2 separate regions of the Homo sapiens genome follow, and region 1 is linked to region 2. The links are contacts of gene promoters, found by promoter capture Hi-C in blood cells and fetal thymus (Javierre and others, 2016). All regions are on one chromosome and are shown on one strand. The core of a region is centred on a gene start or on the middle of the fragment in contact, and the rest is flanking DNA. Distances in the headings are between cores, read along the strand shown.

Region 1 (4,991 bases), core at 65-2,564, 1.6 Mb after region 2:
ATAAAACATTATGTTGTATGCCATAAATATATGCAATTTTTATTTGTTGATTAAAAAATATTAAAAAACAAAAATTCCAGAAGAAGAAATGGGTAAATATATTTCTAATCTTGGAATAGAGAAGGCTTTTCTAACTGGTACATAAAATCCATAAGCCATAATTGAAAAGATGGATACATTTGAGTATGTAAAATTAATAACTTGCTTTTTCAAAAAAATCATCATAAATAAGCAGCAACAGACTGGGAAGAATATTTCTAACAATGGGTAGACACAAGTCTAATTTTAAGATTTCCTTTAAGTTTCCAACAGCACTTATATTTCATTGACAGAACTTAGTCATATAACCCATAAGGCAAGGGAGGTTGGTCTGTTACTTGGGCAGAATTGTTTCTGTAACTAAAAAGAGAGAATGGATGACGGAGACAGAAATTGAGATATCTGCCACACAAGTAAAACCAAATCACTAAACATACAGGATTATTAAATGAAATGTGCTGTGAAAAAAAATTGTAACTGGAAAAGGGGTTGCTAGAGACTTGGGGTTTTGGTGGCTGTGATAGTAGTCAGGGGAGAATTCACTTGAGATATTATTTAAGAAAAGGCTTGAATGAAGTGAGGGAATACTCTATGTGAAAGTGTGATGGATGATGCAGTATGTGCATTGGCCCTGGTTCAAGTAGAGCAAGTAGAGTAAGAAAGTCTGTGTGAACAAGGAGGAAAGTGACAGATGAGGTTGGGGAGGTGTATATGGGCCAGGCCATATGGAGTCTTGTAGCCTTGACACAGAGTTTGGATTAGTTTCCTAATTTAATGGAAACTCACTGGAGAGTTTTGAGTTGTAAGGCTATGAGACCATGATACATAGCTGGGCAAGAGACGGAATTGACTTGGACTAGGGCGATAGTGGTAGAAGTGGTGAGAGTGGTCAGAATTTGCCTATCATGTAGATAAGGACAGTAGGGTTTATTGATGATTTGGATATGAAGTATGAGGAGAAAAGAATAACCAAGATTGGCTGGGCACGGTGGCTCATGCCTGTAATCCCAGCACTTTGGGAGGCCGAGGCAGGTAGATCATGAGGTCAGGAGTTCGAGACCAGCCTGGCCAATATGGTGAAACCCTGTCTCTACTAAAAATACAAAAATTAGCTGGGTGTGGTGGTGCGTGCCTGTAGTTCCAGCTACTCAGGAGGCTGAGGCAGAAGAATCACTTGAACCTGGGAGGCAGAGGTTGCAGTGAGCCGAGATTGCGCCACTGCACTCCAGCCTGGGCGACAGAGCAAGACTCTGTCTCAGAAAAAAAAAAAAAAAAAAAAGAAGAATAAACAAGATTGACTCCTAAGTTTTAGATCAACCTAACCCTAACACCCGGCTCATAGGTGGGCCGCATGCAGCCCAGGATGGCTTTGAATGCGGCCTAACACAAATTCTTAAACTTTCTTAAAACATTATGAGATTTATTTTGCAATTTTTTTTAGCTCATTAACTATTGTTAGTGTTAGTGTATTTTATATATGGCCTAAGATAATAATTCTTCTTCCACTGTGGCCCAGGGAAGCCAAAAGATTGGACACCACTGTTTTAGATCTTTGAATAAATGAATAGATGGCAGTATCAATTTCTGGGAGGGAGAGGGGCAGATTTGTGAGAGGGTAAGGAACCAATAATTTTTTTTTGAACAAGTTAAATTTAAGATATCTATTAGATTTTCAAGTGGAATTATTGAATATGCAGTTGGAGATGTAAGTCTGGACCTAAGAGTAGAGGAAATGGCTCTAGATAGAAATGTGCGAGTCTCAGTGTAGAGTTGGTACTTAAAATCATGGGCCTGATATGAGGTCACCTAGGGCAGTGGTTCTCAACCCAGAGTGCACAGATTCACTCGAGGCACTTTTAAAACATACTGATGCTTGGCTCTAACCTAAGGCCAATTAATCAGAATCTCTAATTCATCCCTATTTTTTAAAAGCTCCTCAAAAGAGATACCTGTCAGCCAAGGTTAATAACAACTAACCTAGGTAATAAGGACTGAAACTACCCATTGTCCTTTGGATTTGGCAATATAGAGGACCTTGAATAATGATTTTAGCATAATGGTGGTTAGGAAAATCTTACTAGGAAGCATTATAGAGTGAATGGGAGATAGGAAACAGACATAGTAATTACAGGCAACTCTTTCAAGGAGTTTTGATAAAAGCGGAGCTGAAAATGGGGCAGCAGGGAGGGAAGTTTCCTTTTAGAGCAAGTTTAACTAGATATTTAGCATTTCAACAGTTGCATCCCAAAATATAGGTGATAGAAATAGTAAAAGTGAATATGGATTATCTGTGTAATAACTTTTTAAAATAAAGTTTTACCCCATTCCTTTAAAGAGAATCAGTTGATGTAGTTATACAACTAGGGATCAAGTAATTGTTTTTTCATTTTAAAATTTAATGTAGTATCTTATTTCACTACCACTACAAAGCAATGCATCTAAATTCTCTTTTATTTCTTTAAGGCTGATAAAGAATTTGTATGGTCTTTGTGGAAACGTCTCCAGGTTACAAACCCAGATCTCACACAAGTGGTCAGTTTGGTTGTGGAAAGGTGAGCTCTCAAATTATTTTTTCATGAGTATTTGGTGTGTTGAGTTTGTTTCTCTTCATTATTAAAGTTAGTACTTATCATTAATCTCCTAAAGAGATTCATTTAATTTCTGAATAAATGTGGAGCTAAAAATTAAATTGTTGGATTTATTATGAAGGGTGCCAGTTCACCAAGTACAGGTATGCCCTGTTCCTGTTCATATTCTGACATATTTGGAGAGTGTGTAGCTAAGAGATAAAACTATGTCTTAAATACTGTGTGTGTGTGTGTCTTGAGCTGTTACAGTTCAACCTTAAAAGTTGGCGAAGTCCCTGTTGTTTGACTTTTTACTCCATGGACTGCCTCTATAGGGAACTTACTAGACGTGACTCAGTTTTCCCCTTAGATAATTGCAGTGTGTAATTGAAAGCCGGGGATGACCTTGCCAGTGTAGAGTAAGTGTTCTGGAATAGGTTAAAGGATTTTACTTAGCACTCCATATTATCCTGTAGGAACTGCCCAGTCATTTAACTGTAGATTGTTGGGCCTCTCCTTGGTTATTAGAAACAGTGGAATGATGCTGGGTTCTCTCTATCAAACATTTGGTATACAGTATTCCCATGACACTTAGCACAGCAATGAAAACACTTGCTTTCTTAGTAAATGGATTTCATTATACTTTTTAAATGAGAAGCTAAGCATATGGATACCTTTTCCTTTTTTAAAAATTGGAATCATGATCCTAAAATCTGAATATCATTTTTTATTACTTGAATTATATTCACCCTTGTAGTCTCTAGTCCTGGGATCATTCCAGCGTTGTCTGAGATTTGACTTGTTAAAAATCTGTGATACATGCCTGAGTATGTCTAATTTTACCATCTTTGGTTATTATGAACACTTAAAATAGTATAATCAGTTTCTTCTCATGTTGCTTGTACGTCTAATTCATCAATCATTTTTTTCCTTCTGATGATCAGAATTAAGTCTTTTGTTGAAGTACCCTTGTTACTTCCTCAATCATTTTTGAGATGAAATGTGATCACTCTCAGACTCCCTCTGTTTTTTTAGTAGAATAAGCCTTCTAGAGAAGCCTTGGGACTTCAATTGTCATTTCCGTGATTCTTTATTCTCCTCTCCTTTTATTTGTTATTTTTTAAAACTTTCTAAACCTATCCATAATTTTTACTTTTCTCTTGGTTAAACAGAAGCAGATATTAAATTATTGTTAGGTCATTTTCCTCATTCTTTACAATGTCTGTTTTTCATATTTATAATATACAGAGTATATATTCATATAACATAAAATTTATAAATAAATGTACGTATGTATATTAGACGTAGGTGTTCAAAAGTCTTTTGTTGATAAGGTGTAATGAGAAATTTTGGAGATTACTGCTTTATAACTATGACTGTCAAAATTTAGTGTGCACAAGTTATACTTGGAGAATTTATTTATTTATTTTATTTTATTTTTTTTATTTTATTTTTTTTTTTGAGACGGAGTCTCGCTCTGTCGCCCAGGCCAGACTGCGGACTGCAGTGGCGCAATCTCGGCTCACTGCAAGCTCCGCTTCCCGGGTTCACGCCATTCTCCTGCCTCAGCCTCCCGAGTAGCTGGGACTACAGGCGCCCGCCACCGCGCCCGGCTAATTTTTTGTATTTTTAGTAGAGACGGGGTTTCACCTTGTTAGCCAGGATGGTCTCGATCTCCTGACCTCATGATCCACCCGCCTCGGCCTCCCAAAGTGCTGGGATTACAGGCGTGAGCCACCGCACCCGGCCTGGAGAATTTATTAAAATGAAGATCTCTGGGCCTTTTACCTGATCTACTGAATCTCTAGGGGGTGGGACCTAGATTTAAAATAAAGTTTAAAATAACATTTCCAGGTAATTCTGATGTCTGTAGATTACACTGTGAGATACTTTGGATTTTGAGTCTATTTTTGAAATTGGAAACGATAAGTGGCATTTATAATTTTATGACTATGTAAATACTTCCTAGAGAACCATGTAGTATGTTCACATCCATTGAGAAGTGAAAATGATATGCTGAATATTCAACCTATGTCTGTTAAAAAGAATATTCTAAATATCAAGGTCAAATAGATGATCTTTCTGTATAGTCCATTAGTTATCCAAATTATGATCCATTTAGGTCTGTTTAATTTTTAAACCGTGGACTTCCTGGACAGCATTTCCCCCCTGGAATTTCTCATTGCCCTTCTCTTTACTTTTTCTTATAAAGAATGTCTACGTCCTTTGTCAGACATTTGTATAACAGGCTGAGAACATTTTTCCTTTTCCTCTTTGGCTTATGGTATGGATTTGGACGAATTAATTTCTAAACCTACTCACGTTTGTCATCATAGGTTTTCTTTTCGTTGTACAGCTGAACTTATTACACAGTTTCTAGGATGC
Region 2 (5,092 bases), core at 1,108-3,607:
CTCATATTTTCAAACACCTCAAAATAAACAAGGATACCTCGAAGACCATGAAAAAGTATATCAGAGGGGCCTTAAACCTGATCAGTTTCCCTAGGCTCCATTTGAACGTGAATTGTGTTTTATAGGTGCATCATATATACTACGGACTATGGAGGGTATAAACAAATTCCATTTAAGGTTGTTGCCCTCGGTCTCACAATATATTTGGAGGTCAAAGCATACACAGAGTTAAGAATTAAAACAAAAGATTATCACGAAAGGAATAGATTAGAATGTAAAATATACAGACAAGGATTATGACTAAGGATTGTTCAAGTAAGACTGCACCGAAAAGGCAGACTTTATAGGCAAGGAAAAAAGCTTTGGAAGGAAACTTGTGAACAGGAGTTTACGTAGAGCAGCTAGATGGAAGAAAGTCAAGGAACAGTGATCGTTTTACACTTGGATGGCACTCTCAGCTCCTAGACAGGACTCCGTTATCTAATGGGTGTTTTCCACCATTCCCCTGCTGACATAACTAAAACTACAGAATTTAATTATTTTTAAGAAATACATTTTCAAAGGACAGTAAATTAGTCGAAAATAAATGGCTTGGAAAAATAAAACTTCAGAACCCCATGTAAGTATATTTTTAAAGGATCTTGAGTTTACCTAATCTAATTGATTGCAACATATCTTAGGTCCTATCTATCTCTGTTTGAGAGCCTGGGTACCACCATAAACAAAAAGAACCCTTTTTCTAAAAATGGAGCGTAGATCTTTAAACAGTCTCAATTCCTCAATGTCACAAAACATCCTGGGTCCTTAATCATTTCTCTGTACCACTAGATGTGAACTGAGGAATCTGGTCCACACCTCCTTTTTGCCTATTGGAAACAAAAAGGTAAAACAACTTCTTCAAGGTCATAAACATCTCAAATAAAAAAGGAGAAATGAATTTTCTGGCCCTTCCTCGGTACTAAACTACTGTAATACTTTCAAGAATATCCAGTCCTGAATCTGTATTAAACAAGCAAATCCAGAAGGCCTCATCAAGTACAAGGTATTTTTTTTAAAACCCTGTAAATCCAATTTAATCACATACGCACTTCTCTGACATCCAAGTGTTTGTGTGTAATCTGCACAAATTCCATTGATATTTTGTACTTGATCCAAAACTATGGAAATGTCAATGTTTCACTAATTTTTAAACAAAAATTCACTCTTCATTATTTCACCTACAATGGAATATTAACTAGCAACGCATTTAAATATTTCCTAGGAAGAAAATCTGTCCAAGTCTGCCAATAAACCATAGGGAAATACACAGGTATGTAGAAACGTCTGGATTTTCATAATTACACGGGAGATTATTGGGCAAAAAACTAAAATGAAAGGTCAGGTTACAAATGAGACTAAAGCGAGGGAGAGAAAGGACAGAAGAAAAAATAAAGAGACACGGTGGGCAGCAGGCCTCTGGAGAGGAGGGTAGCACTGCTAAGCGCGAGGGCTACAAATCACTTACTCGAGCTGGCCAATGGGGATAACCTTTCATCTTGGCGAAGATGAGGTCTCCAGGTTTGAAATCGCGAGTCATGTTTCGGGGGCGAGACCGGGGGTCCGAAGCCCGGGAGGCGGCGAGGAGATGCGGCGGCGCGGGGATGCGGGCGGCGGACGCGGGCCCAGCTACCGGGCCCGCGGGCGGGGGAGGATGCCTCGGGGCGTCCCGACGCGCCTGCTAGGGAGAGCACCGAGGGCGGTTAAAGCGAAGAACCCCGAAGGGAGGGGCCGCAAGGGGAGGGGGAGGGGAACCGGCGGGTGGGGGTGGGAGAGCGAGGGGACGGCCGCCTCCCGCTCCTCCCCCGCCAGTGCGCTGCCTCCGCGCTGGAGCAGGTCCTCCACCCCGCCACCGAAGAGACGCCACCACCTGAAGCAGGGATGCTGCCCGGCCAGAAATCGCCCGTCTGCCCGCCCCATCTTTCTCCGGGCTTTTTCCACCGAGCTTAAGCCCCAAAAGGGAGGGGGTGCATGGGAGAGAAAAAGGCAGGGATTCCGAGAAGCGAGCGGCCCCCTTCCGCCCACGCAAGGCCTCCCCCGCAACCTGCTGCCCAGCGGCTGCAGCCTCGGCCCCCTCGGCTCCCGGGCGGGCCGCGTCCACTTCCCCGCTACAGCCAGGAGCGACGCCACCGAGGGGGGGGCGGGGCGAGTCCCCGTCGCCCGCTCACCTGCCGGGGCCGCGGGCGCCGACGCTGCGGTTGCTGGCCGGTCGCCTCTACCCGCGTCCACGCAAGCCACCTGCGCCACCAGCTGCCGCAGAGGCGTCTCAACGGCTCGGAATCGCAACCGCGCCGCCGCTGCCGCCGCCGTAGCTGCGCTGCTCCCGCGCGGCTCCCGCTCGGCGCCCGCTAGCACTGGGGCGCGACCAACTGTTTACCGAGAGAGGGGGGATGTTGCAGCACCCGGCGAAGCTGTGTGGCTCCGAAGCGGATTTTCTGGAAACCCTACGTCCCCAAGTTCGCTTTCATGTAACAGGTGCATGCAGATGGAGAGGAAGACGCAAGCGAAGAAGAAAGGACTGGGCGAAAATAGCTCGGCCTGCCGCAAGTTCCCCCTGCGGTTTGCGGAGTGGTCGGGCCCGGCCCGCCCCTGCTGGCTTCTCTGCGTGTGTGTATTTGTATGTGTACTGTATGTAAAAGGCGGGGAGGGAGGAAATGATTGTTGTGGACGCGGTTTTGGGGGCGGGTATCCGGGCCTCTCTCCCTTGGCTGCGTGTTAGGGAGAAAGTGGCAGTAAAGATTCATGTTCTTGTATCGTTTCCAGGGTGGGGAGGTTTGAATGCTGCTTTTGCGCGGTTTGCATCATCCAAAAAAGAGGAGCTGTACGAAAACCCTAAGATGAAATTGGAGCATGCGGCGGTTGCAGGGTGTGCTGCATCTAGGCCTCTTGCACCTCGCTGAATGGGCCTCGTAGTCTCCTTTTCCTTGAAATTGTAGTATGAGAGAGCCCTATTTCATTTCTTTTGCATTTGCATCACCAAGAACTATTAAGAAAAATGCAACCCTACTGAATGCAAAATGCGAAGGGTAGAAAACAATGACAGGAAAACAGAAACCTTTTAGATAGGATGTGAGTTTGGGCCCTAACTAAATTTTAGCTGCATCTAAATTTTATTTCCCTAGTAGAATAGGAGCTGGTAGGTGGTACAATGTGTAAGTGTTACTAAACCTCAAATATTTTCTCTCTTAAAATGCTCTTCAAGGGATTTTAAAGGTTAATTTTTTGATCCTTTAGAGAGGCTGAAAATATTTTTAAAAAGAATGTTAAGACATATAAAAATAAGAATAATAAGACATATATTAGCACCTAGATAATACTGTTTTAAATACGGGACTCAACTGGAAATGAATTAGGAAATTTTTTTTGAATTGGTAAAAATTGAGAATTTTTTGAAAGCGATACAGCATGTCTTTAAAAAGGAATGAAAGAAGACAGTCCCAAAGTAAAATGTCCTGTAAGGAGTTTCGAGAAACTAAGTATACCTGGGCAATATGCAGAGAGTTCCAAGTGGAGCAAAAAGAGAAATTGGCAGAGGAGAAGGAAGGGTTGGTGAAATGTCTTGAAGCTTCTCATTCTGAATATGAATTTAATGTGTGTAGTAGGAAGCTACTATAGGTTGCTCAGCAAGAAGGGGGTAAAAATGATTATTTAACCAGTTCTTGATGTTTCAAGGTAGATGTTAGTAGAAAGAGGCTGGGGGTAACTGGAGTACTCATGAAATGACGCATTTCTCAGTGAGAATGGTGACTAAGAAAAGGGAAGGAAGAGCACAACTAAGTAATTACACAAAGGAATGATTGTCAGGTGTTGGCTATAAATTATGCATAGGAAAAGGTGGAAAAAGATGTATTGAAGAAAAGCTCAAGATACAGAGTAAGAGAGACCAAAGCAGCATCCAGCAATCATTTTTTTGTGTGTATGCACTTTATTTGTTCTAAACCCTGTAAGGCCTTGCTACTTCAAGTGTGGTCCAAGGCCCAGCAGCAAGGGCTTTACCTGGGAGCTCAGGTAAAGCTCAGACCTTCCCCAGGCCTTCTAAATCATAATCTGCGTTTTAACAGGATCCCTAGGTGATTCTTACGCATATTCAAGTTTGAGAAACTGCTTTAGAGGATACCTCAGACTGTAAAAACTTCAAACTAAGAAAAACAGATATATAACAAGTTATAATTAACGTTAAAGATAACTTTTTATTAGTACTAATGGTAGGATTAACAGGTAAAGAGGGGGTAGTTAGTGTTAGAGGGGACCTCAGAAAAGAAATAAAAAAGGGAAAATGGAAAAGCATTGATGTTTTACTATTAGTATTTTCTGTTGTTTTTGTTGTTTTAAAAAAAGGAAGTACCATACTTAGCTCCTGCTGCCTTTAAGTTTTGTCCGCTTCAACCTGTGGTAGTTTGTGAACAACAGGAGATACCCTTTAAACAATAAAGGCAAAACAGGTGGTGGTTTAAGCTTCCAGAGAACAAAAGCCCAGGATCCCTGGGAGCAACAGTTCTGAATCTGCGAGGAAAGGGGGGGGGAGGGGAGGGGAGGGGAGGGCAGGGAACGGGGAAGGAAAGCTGGGCACATCCTAGCCACTTGGGAGAGCTTTTCTGTGCTCTTTTCCAGCTATGCTTGGTGCAGCCCTCTCCCATAGTCAGCCTTCTTAGTGGGGATACTTGAAAAAGTATACCAAAATGGAGATCAGAGGAGCAATGGGAAAGTTATAAGGAGAAAGAGTGTAATTTCCAAAACAACTGAAGCAAGGGGAGGGGGCAGGAAAATCCAAATGAGTTGAGGCAGGAACTTGGCCTACATTATCTCATTTAACCCAAGTGCCACTATCCCCATTTCACAGATGAGAAAATAAGCTCACAGAAGGTAAGCAGCTAGCTTGCCCAAGATCACACATCTAGTCCAGGGGCTGAGGCAACATTCTAGCCCCTCTGGCTACTTGCCCATGCCATTTTTGTGATCCCACATCGCCTCTAGGTGGGGCAGGGAGGCAGCAAGGCTGAAGGAGGAGTGGCTTATAATTAGAAAAGATGCTGGAAGGAAAAGCAGCCCAGTACTT

The links. Contacts are between HindIII fragments. The CHiCAGO score rates a contact against its expected background, and 5 or more counts as called.
Region 1: a contact is called between a fragment that was not itself captured here and the fragment with the promoter of PSIP1 in region 2, in 1 of 17 cell types (monocytes). The highest score is 6.7, in monocytes.

The regions. Positions count from the first base shown.
Region 1 is chr9:17,140,786-17,145,776 of GRCh38, forward strand. It overlaps CNTLN (centlein), which reads left to right. Exons shown (of 26, transcript NM_017738.4): 2 at 2,503-2,591. Among named protein-coding and RNA genes, the nearest start is that of CNTLN, 8.2 kb to the left of the region's middle. The HindIII fragment of the contact is 7,594 bases long and covers 1-4,991 here.
Region 2 is chr9:15,508,613-15,513,704 of GRCh38, forward strand. PSIP1 (PC4 and SRSF1 interacting protein 1) reads right to left here and starts at 2,358. Exons shown (of 16, transcript NM_033222.5): 1 at 2,205-2,358; 2 at 1,505-1,717. The coding sequence starts at 1,576. RefSeq lists enhancers at 1,471-2,424, 2,425-3,377, 4,030-4,648 and silencers at 1,484-1,683, 1,784-1,833, 1,964-2,023, 2,034-2,243, 2,264-2,343. The HindIII fragment of the contact is 3,241 bases long and covers 359-3,599 here.